3 separate regions of the Homo sapiens genome follow, and regions 2 and 3 are each linked to region 1. The links are contacts of gene promoters, found by promoter capture Hi-C in human tissues and cell types (Jung and others, 2019). All regions are on one chromosome and are shown on one strand. The core of a region is centred on a gene start or on the middle of the fragment in contact, and the rest is flanking DNA. Distances in the headings are between cores, read along the strand shown. Region 1 holds the start of DLGAP5 (DLG associated protein 5). Region 2 overlaps KTN1 (kinectin 1). Region 3 overlaps KTN1 (kinectin 1).

Region 1 (3,022 bases), core at 185-2,684:
AGGCCGGCACGGTGGCTTAGGCCTGTAATCCTACCACTTTGGGAGGTCGAGGCAGGACTGCTTGAGCCCAGGAGTTTGAGACCAGCCTGGGCAACATAACACGACCCCGTCTCTATAAATTTTAAAAAAGAAAAGCCATACACACACACACACACACACACACACGCACAAAATCATATAGTTTAATTGGCACATGCCTTTTTCTTGGAAAGATCTTTGAGAATGTATTCAAGCAAAACAAAAGAGGACAATAAAGACGACGTCAGTAGATCCAACTAGGGAGAACAAAGAAAATTAGAAAGTTTGAGGGGGTCACCTGTGTAGCTGGTATAGAGAACTACCAAGCCAAACTGGAGAAAGGATACTGATTCTCAGAAGTCTTGGCAGTTAAAAAACAAAAACAAAAAAAGGTAAGGGGGAGGCTCTGTGATAGACACACTATGGTATATTCTTCAACAAGAATTAACTAAATCCACTAGAAAACTCCAGATAATAGAAAAATTGGCACAAGTAATGCAATACATTGTTACATGATTCTAAGCAATCAACAAAATATAAAAAACGAGAATCTGTCTGACCTGCATGCTAATAACATTCTCCTCTAAGACCCAAGGAAAGTGACAATGGACTGTGCTTTTCATAAAGAACTGTCTTCTACTATTTATCTCCTGCAATATTAATTCGCTAAAGATTGAAGAAAAATTAAGACTTATGTATTAAATACAGGATAGCACTATCCACAGCAAGAGAAAGAGCGAGCGAGGACAACATTAAAGGTACAATTATCAGAATAACCCTGAAAGGTAGTTAACTATTATCGCTCTCATACAGATGAGGTCAATTAACTGCTCACATTAGCATATCTAAAAGGTGGTGAAGCTGGGATCCCAAGCAAGGCAGCCCTGGCTCCACACACACCTAAATTTTGTTTGGCTGAGTGGCGTTTCCTCCAGCTTGAAAGTCCAGAATGCGTTAATCTTGCTTGACTAGAGGTTCTCAACCGGGCGTTTTTAGTTGCCATGGGACCTGGGAAGAGCTACGGGAATTTAATGTCGGAGCTAGTGAAGAACAGTTTCACCCCAAAGGTCAATTACGCCCCGGTGGTGAAACGCTGACTATTACAGAGGTCAGGGCAAACATATGGACTCTTCTAAAGGCTCGCATTATCAGCTTCGGGAAGGGCAGGTAACACGGTCCTAAAGGAGCCTGCCTCTGACTTGCTCCCGCTCGCAGCCCCCGGTCCTCAGACCCTTCTAGACCTTCAACGGAAGCGGGCCAGTGTTCTCCGTCCAGCTCTCCAGCACCCACCTACCTGAGCCACCTTCTAGCGTGAAACCTCAACCAAACAAAAAGTAAAGAACACTCGGTCTGGACGACCACCGCCGACTCCGAAGCAGGAACCCTCACAACCCGAGCCTCCACGAAATTCAAACTTGCCGCACCGAGCCGCTGATTGGAGGGGCTTTAACCAACACTTCCGGGGAAGATCCCACCCCTTCCACTCAACGAGGCTTGCGATTGGTTTGCTCCGTGCGATATTTGAATTGATTGAAAGGTGAAGGGCCAGTTCAAAAGATGGGTGAGAGAGGGAAAATAGGCGGGACCGCGACGCGGGATGAGAAGGAGTGGAGCAGTCGGGGCGCTCACGTCAGGTGAAGGGCGGGAGTGGGCGGTGGAGCCCGAGGGGTGAGGCTGGGTCCCTGGCAAAGCTGGGCTGCGGGAAATCTCCCCCAGAGCTCGCAAGGCTTTTTTTTTTTTTCTTTTTTCTTTTTTTTGAGACAAGGTCTCTGTCCCTTAGGCTGGAGTATAGTGGGCACCGACCACTGCTCACTGCAGCCTTGAGCTGCTGTGTTCAAACCATCCTCCCACCTCAGCCTCCCGAGTAGCTGGGACTATAGGCGCGCACCACTACGCCTGGCTAACTTTAAAAAAATTCCGTAGAGACAGGGCCTCACTACGTTGACCAAGCTGGATTCAGGGCTTTTTAATGTCCTTGTTTAGTCACAGAATCTAGCAGACCTTCTTGGAATGTTTTCTTTACTAGACGTTTTAAAGAAAAGGCTTACCCCAATTATCAAATCCTTACATAGTTTAGCGTTACTTTTCAACGTCGCCAGCCCCCCTCCCCTTTTTTTTCTTTTTTAGTTCATTTTTTGTTGAGGCGAAGTTTTCGTATACAGTGAAAATAATAGTTTTTCCCCCCCAGTGGACAATTTGATGAGTTTGGTAAATGTAAACAGCTGTGTAACTACCACCCAATCAGGACGTAGAGCATTTCCATCACTCAGAAGAGTGGCCTGTTTCTTTCCTGTCCATCTCCCACCACATCAGCAACCACTCCTCTTATTTCTAGCACTATAAAAATGAAGGTGATAGGTACTCTTTTGGGTCTGCGTGAACCAGAAGTTAGTAGTGTTTGTTATTGAGAGGCATTCCATTGAATACTTTATGCATTCACCAGTTGATGGATTTGTATTGCTTTCAATTTTTGGTGATGATGAGCAAAGTTGCTATAACCATTCTCGTACAAGTCCTTGTGGGCATATTTTATTTATCTTGAGGAAATACAGGAGTGGAATTTCTGGGTCATTCTGGGTATGTTTAACTTAAAATTTTTTTTTTTTTTTAGAAGCAGGGTCTCTCCGTCCCCCAGGCTAGAGAGCAGTGGCACAATCATAGCTCATTGCAGCCTTGGCCTCTTGAATAGCTGGGACTATAGGCGGGTGCCGTCACCCATGTCTAACTTTGTAAGGAATTGCCAAGCAGTTTTCCAAAGTGGTTGTACCATTTTACAATTCCCACCAGCCACATATAAGAGTTCCACTTGTTTCACATGCTTTCCAGCACGTGGGGTTGTCAGTCTCTAATGTTCACCCTTCTGGCCAGGCACTGTGGCTTGCGCTTGTAATCCCAGCACTTTGGGAGGTCAAGGCGGGGGGATCACGAGGTCAAGAGATCAAGATCACCCTGGCCAATATGGTGAAATGCCGTCTCTGCTAAAAATACAAAAATTAGCCGGGTG
Region 2 (2,839 bases), core at 146-2,645, 470 kb after region 1:
ATTTTTCGTATGTTCAAGCCATTTTTATATGAATTGTCCTTTAATTTTTCCCACACTTTTTCCACTGAGTTGACGTTTTTTTTTTTTTTACTAATTTGTAAGATCCTTTTTATGTAATAAGGGAAATTAAATAACCTTTTGTTATTATATGAGGTGATTTATTTTCCCCATTTTTTCTTCTGACTTCATTTGTGTTTTTCCCCTTTTTGGGAAATTTGAAACTTTTATGTACTCAAATATAAGTAATTTCTAGAGTTTTAAGTCTCTGGAAGAAAGGTATCTCTCTACGATCATAAAAATGTATTCGGCTGGGTGTGGTAGTTCACAGTAGTAATCCCAGCACTTTGGGAGGCTGAGACAGGTGGATCTCTTGAGGTCAGGGGTTCGAGACCAAACATGGCCAACGTGGTGAAACCCCGACTCTACTAAAAAAATACAAAAATTAGCCGGGCATGGTGGCAGGTGCCTGTAGTCCCAGATACTCGGGAAGCTGAGACAGGAGAATCACTTGAACCCGGGAGGCAGAGGCTGCAGTGAGTTAAGATCACACCACTGCACTCCAGCCTGGGTAACACAGCAAGACTGCCATCTTTAAAAAAAAAAAATTACATTTTCTTCTAATGTGTTTATAATTCTTTTTGTTTGTTTGTTTGTTTAGCTTATTTAGTGTAACTTATTTCAGTAAGCTGTAACAATAACATTGTAACCATTAAAAAGAGAAGGCTAGCCACATTATTAAATAATCCATCATAACAGTAGTAATTCCGTTCCCCAGGGGGACATTTGTCAATATCTGAAGACATTTTTGGTTGTCACAGCTGGGGCAGGCGGGCTGGGGCATCTAGTGGATGGGTGCCATGGATGCTTCTAAATGTCCAGCAGTGCATAGGATAAAACCCCCACAACAAAGAAAAATATGAAACCCAAAATGTTACTAGAGTTGAGGTTGATTTGAAATGTCACTTCATACTAAATTCTTAGAGCTATTTCGGTATATTTCTGGATTCTATTTTGTTCCATTGAGACATGCAAACTCCGCAGCTAGTACTAATATAAATACTCTAATTTCATCATATGTTTTAATAAAGAGCTTATTACACCCTTTAAAATTATTGCTATTTTGGAATTTTTCTAGCTTGTATGATCTGTTTCTAGCTTGTATGATCTAAGTTTATGTGGAAAAAATCTGTTTAGATACTGATGTTTAATTTTTATTTAATTAGGATGTACAAGATGAAAACAAATTGTTTAAGTCCCAAATTGAGCAGCTTAAACAACAAAACTACCAACAGGTAGGTATTATTAGATGTCTTGCCTTTCACTTACGTGGCAAAAAAATTATATAACCAGTGACATATGAGTATTTTTGCCATTTCTGCATTTTCATTGAGAATGAAGTATGTTTTATTTATGTTTATCAAATTTTATATAAAAGAAAGCAACTTGCTATGTCATATCCAAAGTAAAACAAATCTATAAAGTATACACAAATAATATTATTGCCGGTATTCCAGCTCTGTTTTGTATTCATGTGTGTTTTCTGATCCTAGAATTCTTAGCAAGTCAGTTTAAATACTGTAGAGGTTGGGTTAAAGATATGTGTACACACTCTTATCTCCCCTCTTCCCAAATGAAACATTAGTAACTGGAGAGAAACTAACAAATGTATCATAAGCAATAGTCTACTACTATTTAAAAGAGGTTTTCAAGTTATAATTCTGCTTGGTAAATCAAAAGTGTGTTTTTATAAAAGATGCTACCCAAAATAGCCTGTAAATTAATTTATGCATGTATATGGATAGACTTGATAGTATTTTGAGAAACAAATGAATTGGAGTCCTTGCAAACAAGAAGCTTGAGAGATTATTGTCACCAAGGAATAAATACCATATATGAAGGGCTGTGTACCTTTGCATGTTGATGTATAAATAACTTTGTTAAACGTGAGGAAACATAACTTGTCCTAGTTTTGCTTTTGATTTCTGTTTTTTTTTTTTTTTTTTAACTTGGAAGCTTAACAGTTTTATGTAGTCAAATTTGAATTGTGCAGTTTGAAAATGTAAGGTGTGCTTCCATGCACATAGTGGGAAATTGATAAATACTTATTAAATGAAGAGTTCAAGTACGTTGCGACAGTAGAGATTGGATTTAGCATTCCATACATTTTACAGATTTGTACATGTTTTTATTAAAATCACTTGATTAAAGTCAGGGTTACTGGCATATGAAATATATACTATTTTTACTTTTGTTGTTTTCTTAATTTATATTTGAGAAAAGCTTCAATGTTTTTAAGTCTCCTGAAAAGTTTTGTTCTGAAATAACATTTAACTCTTTTGATAGGCATCTTCTTTTCCCCCTCATGAAGAATTATTAAAAGTGTAAGTAATAAGTTTGAGTCACAGTTTATAAAGTCGTAACTATTTTTATGTGGTAAACCATTCTCAAATAAGCAATTTAGTGTAACTGCAAATGGCACCTGATTTTTACAGTTCTATTTGGATATCTTGAATTGCAGTTTAGAGTTGAGTAGTACCTTTGGCTAAGATGCTTTTTTTATGGTATTTGGATTTGAATATTTTGTTGAGGGAGATGTTTGTTTTTGTTTTTTTAGGCATTCAGAAAACATCAAATCAAGTTAAACTATACTTTGCAGGGTTTTCTAAATCACCTTCTATTATGTCAGTTATCTTACTGGGTCTTCTTTCTTCTAGATGTGATTGTGTAATTGAATGATGCAAATTTTGTCTTAGCTTCATTTTTTAAAGAAATTTTAGGATAGATGTGGTAGCTCACGCCTGTAATCCCAGCAGCTGGGGAGACTGAGACGGGAGGATCA
Region 3 (2,852 bases), core at 165-2,664, 490 kb after region 1:
TTAATTGTGGTGTTCCTTTATTTTTACAGTTGAAGGCACAGTTAAATGAAACACTCACAAAACTTAGAACTGAACAAAATGAAAGACAGAAGGTAGCTGGTGATTTGCATAAGGTAGGCACTGTTCGTCCTAGAGATGTAGTATCATGAGCCTGTGTTGTGTGTTCAATCTTAAGCAAACTTATGCTGCTAATTCTGGATTTGTTGTTTTGCATCATAATATTAACCTTTTATAAATTTAAGCTGCTTGTTATTAGTTAGTATTTTGGAATGAAACGTTTTGGCTTGTTTTTCCAGGATTCTTAATTCACCTCATTATTTCCTCACATTTCTATAATTAATTGCTTTATAAAGTACAGAGTAAAATTTAGTTGGAGTTATTAAAATTTGGCTGCATCCATATATTTTTTAAAATTGGGATTTGGCTGTGTATTCATTTACAAAGTATGTTTCTCTTGGTCTTTTGGATAAAACAAAGATATAAATTTCTATTTTTTTTAGATGTTTTTCCTTCATTTATTTCTTCATACAAATATATTTTTCCTAATCTCAATGCAAATGAATGATTTTTAGGACTGCATTTCTTTGCATTGGTTTGACAGGTTATTTGTAATTCTGTTTTGAGATCTATTTTTAATAGTAGAATTCACATATTCTTATATCAAAGCTGTTTTAGAGCTATGATAGTGTTTATGGATATATCATCATTAGCAAAACAAGTGTCACTTTTTGGAATTGCAAGAACAAGAGGTACGCACTTAAATTTTGATAGTATAAAATGGAATCCCAGAAACCCAACAGTAGTAATTTATACTCCTCTCAACATGGTATGAGAACATGTATTTCCCTATACCCTCACCAATATTAGATACTGTCTAACATTTAAATATTTGATATTCTAATAGATTTTAAAAGTTATCTCATTTTAAAAAATAATACTCCTTTTAAAGAGTTGAAAGAAATTTTTTTTTGATTCTATATGCTTATAGTTTATAATTGTTATGTAAAAGTCTAGGAATCCACAAGTGTTGTCAGGTTATTTTAGTGTAGACAGAATGTGAATTTGGGTCTGTTTTAGAGGACAAACTTTGATGCTTAATACACTGTTGTGGTTGAGCAGTCAGTTTACTTTGATACGTGATTTTAATTTTTGACCTCTGGATCAAAATATAAACATGGAATTTAGCCTAGCAATGTAGTTTCTTAGAAAGTACTTTAAAAATACCAAACTGGTGCTCAAAGTTATATAATAGATATACCATCTTATTTACAGTAGCTAAGATGGCAATGATAGGTGACAGTTAACTGCCCCATACCTATACAGTAGAAATATTGTGCAACATTTGATTGGAAAAGCACATAAATATTTGACTAAAAAAAGTTTATAACGGCTGGGCATGGTGGCTCACGCCTGTAATCCCAGTACTTTGGGAGGCCAAGGTGGGCGGATCACCTGAGGTCAGGAGTTCAAGACCAGCCTGGCCAACATGGTGAAACCCCCGTCTCTACTAAAAATACAAAAATTAGCCGGGTGTGGTGGTGCGCACCTGCAGTCTCAGCTACTCAGGAGGCTGAGGCAGAAGAATTGCTTGAATCCGGGAGGCAGAGGTTGCAGTGAGCCGAGATTACGCTACTGCACTCTAGCCTGGGTGACAGAGAAAGACTGTCTAAAAAAAAAAAAAAAAAAAAAAGTTAATAACATACTTTGTAAAATAGGTAAGTATAAAGCAGTATGTATGTTAAAGCTCACTTATGTAATATTTTCTATAAGCACATAATATGTAGAGAGGGATCTAAACTAGGGGTGGACAAATCCCAAAGCTTTTTTAGGGTTTGTGGGTCACATATGATCTCTTTAGAATATTTTTGTCTCCTTTTTAACATAACCCTTTATTTTATTATATATTTTTTGAGATGGAGTTTTGCTCTTATTGCCCAGGCTGGAGTGCAATGGCACCATCTTGGCTCACTGCAACCTCCGCCTCCCAGGTTCAGTTGATTCTCCTTCCTCAGCCTCCCTAGTAGCTGGGATTACAGGCATGTGCCACCACACCTGGCTAATTTTGTATTTTTAGTAGAGATGGGGTTTCTCCATGTTGGTCAGGCTGGTCTCGAACTCCCGACCTCAGGTGATCCGCCCGCCTTGGCCTCCCAAAGTGCTAGGATTACAGGCGTGAGCCACCGCGCCCAGCAACATGGCCCTTTAAAAAGTAAAAAATATTCTTAGCTTGTATTCTGTACAAAAACAGGCTTTGGGCCAGATTTGACTAACCTGTAATCTAGACTAATACTAACCTAAATATCAACTATGGTTATTTCTGTTTTTAAATTTCTTTGTATAGTTTCTGCATTACTTAAGCTTTTAAAAACAGTGAACATATGTTCTTATAATCTGGTGGGGGGTGAAGCTATTTTCATTTTGGAGGGAAAAACCTGTGTCGTCTTTTGAGAGGAGCTTTTATCTTCTACAAAATGAATAAAATTATTCATTTTTTATGTATTTATCAACTGTATTACTTAGTAGCTACCATATTGTTTTCCTTATAGGCTCAACAGTCACTGGAGCTTATCCAGTCAAAAATAGTAAAAGCTGCTGGAGACACTACTGTTATTGAAAATAGTGATGTTTCCCCAGAAACGGTATGTATTTTCTTCATCCCCAGATCTCTGAGCTAGTTACCTTGTGACCTGTGTAAAGAACAAAAATGTATAAGGTCCATCTCCGAAAGTCATCTTTCTTGAAAATATCCTGTCCCTAAAATGTAGTGTTTTCATTGATGTTTGATCTCATTTTTGCTTATTGAGGTATGTTAATTTTAAGGGTTGTGTTGAGAGGTATGGAGCGGGGGTCCC

Evidence for each region. The method cuts DNA at HindIII sites, captures the fragments that hold promoters and counts their contacts. A contact is called where the count stands out against the background at its distance.
Region 2: a contact is called between a fragment that was not itself captured here and the fragment with the promoter of DLGAP5 in region 1, in 1 of the 25 tissues and cell types used here (lymphoblastoid cells).
Region 3: a fragment that was not itself captured here is called in contact with the fragment with the promoter of DLGAP5 in region 1 in 1 of the 25 tissues and cell types used here (psoas muscle).

What each region holds. Positions count from the first base shown.
Region 1 is chr14:55,190,151-55,193,172 of GRCh38, forward strand. It overlaps DLGAP5 (DLG associated protein 5), which reads right to left and starts at 1,435. Exons shown (of 19, transcript NM_014750.5): 1 at 1,313-1,435. LOC105370508 (a long non-coding RNA gene) reads left to right here and starts at 1,523. Exons shown (of 2, transcript XR_943888.3): 1 at 1,523-1,652. RefSeq lists enhancers at 625-1,178, 1,179-1,731. The HindIII fragment of the contact is 18,393 bases long and covers 1-3,022 here.
Region 2 is chr14:55,657,323-55,660,161 of GRCh38, forward strand. KTN1 (kinectin 1) reads left to right here. Exons shown (of 44, transcript NM_001079521.2): 30 at 1,224-1,292; 31 at 2,344-2,381. Among named protein-coding and RNA genes, the nearest start is that of KTN1, 79 kb to the left of the region's middle. The HindIII fragment of the contact is 3,805 bases long and covers 1-2,839 here.
Region 3 is chr14:55,675,806-55,678,657 of GRCh38, forward strand. It overlaps KTN1 (kinectin 1), which reads left to right. Exons shown (of 44, transcript NM_001079521.2): 41 at 30-113; 42 at 2,547-2,639. Among named protein-coding and RNA genes, the nearest start is that of KTN1, 97 kb to the left of the region's middle. The HindIII fragment of the contact is 3,550 bases long and covers 1-2,852 here.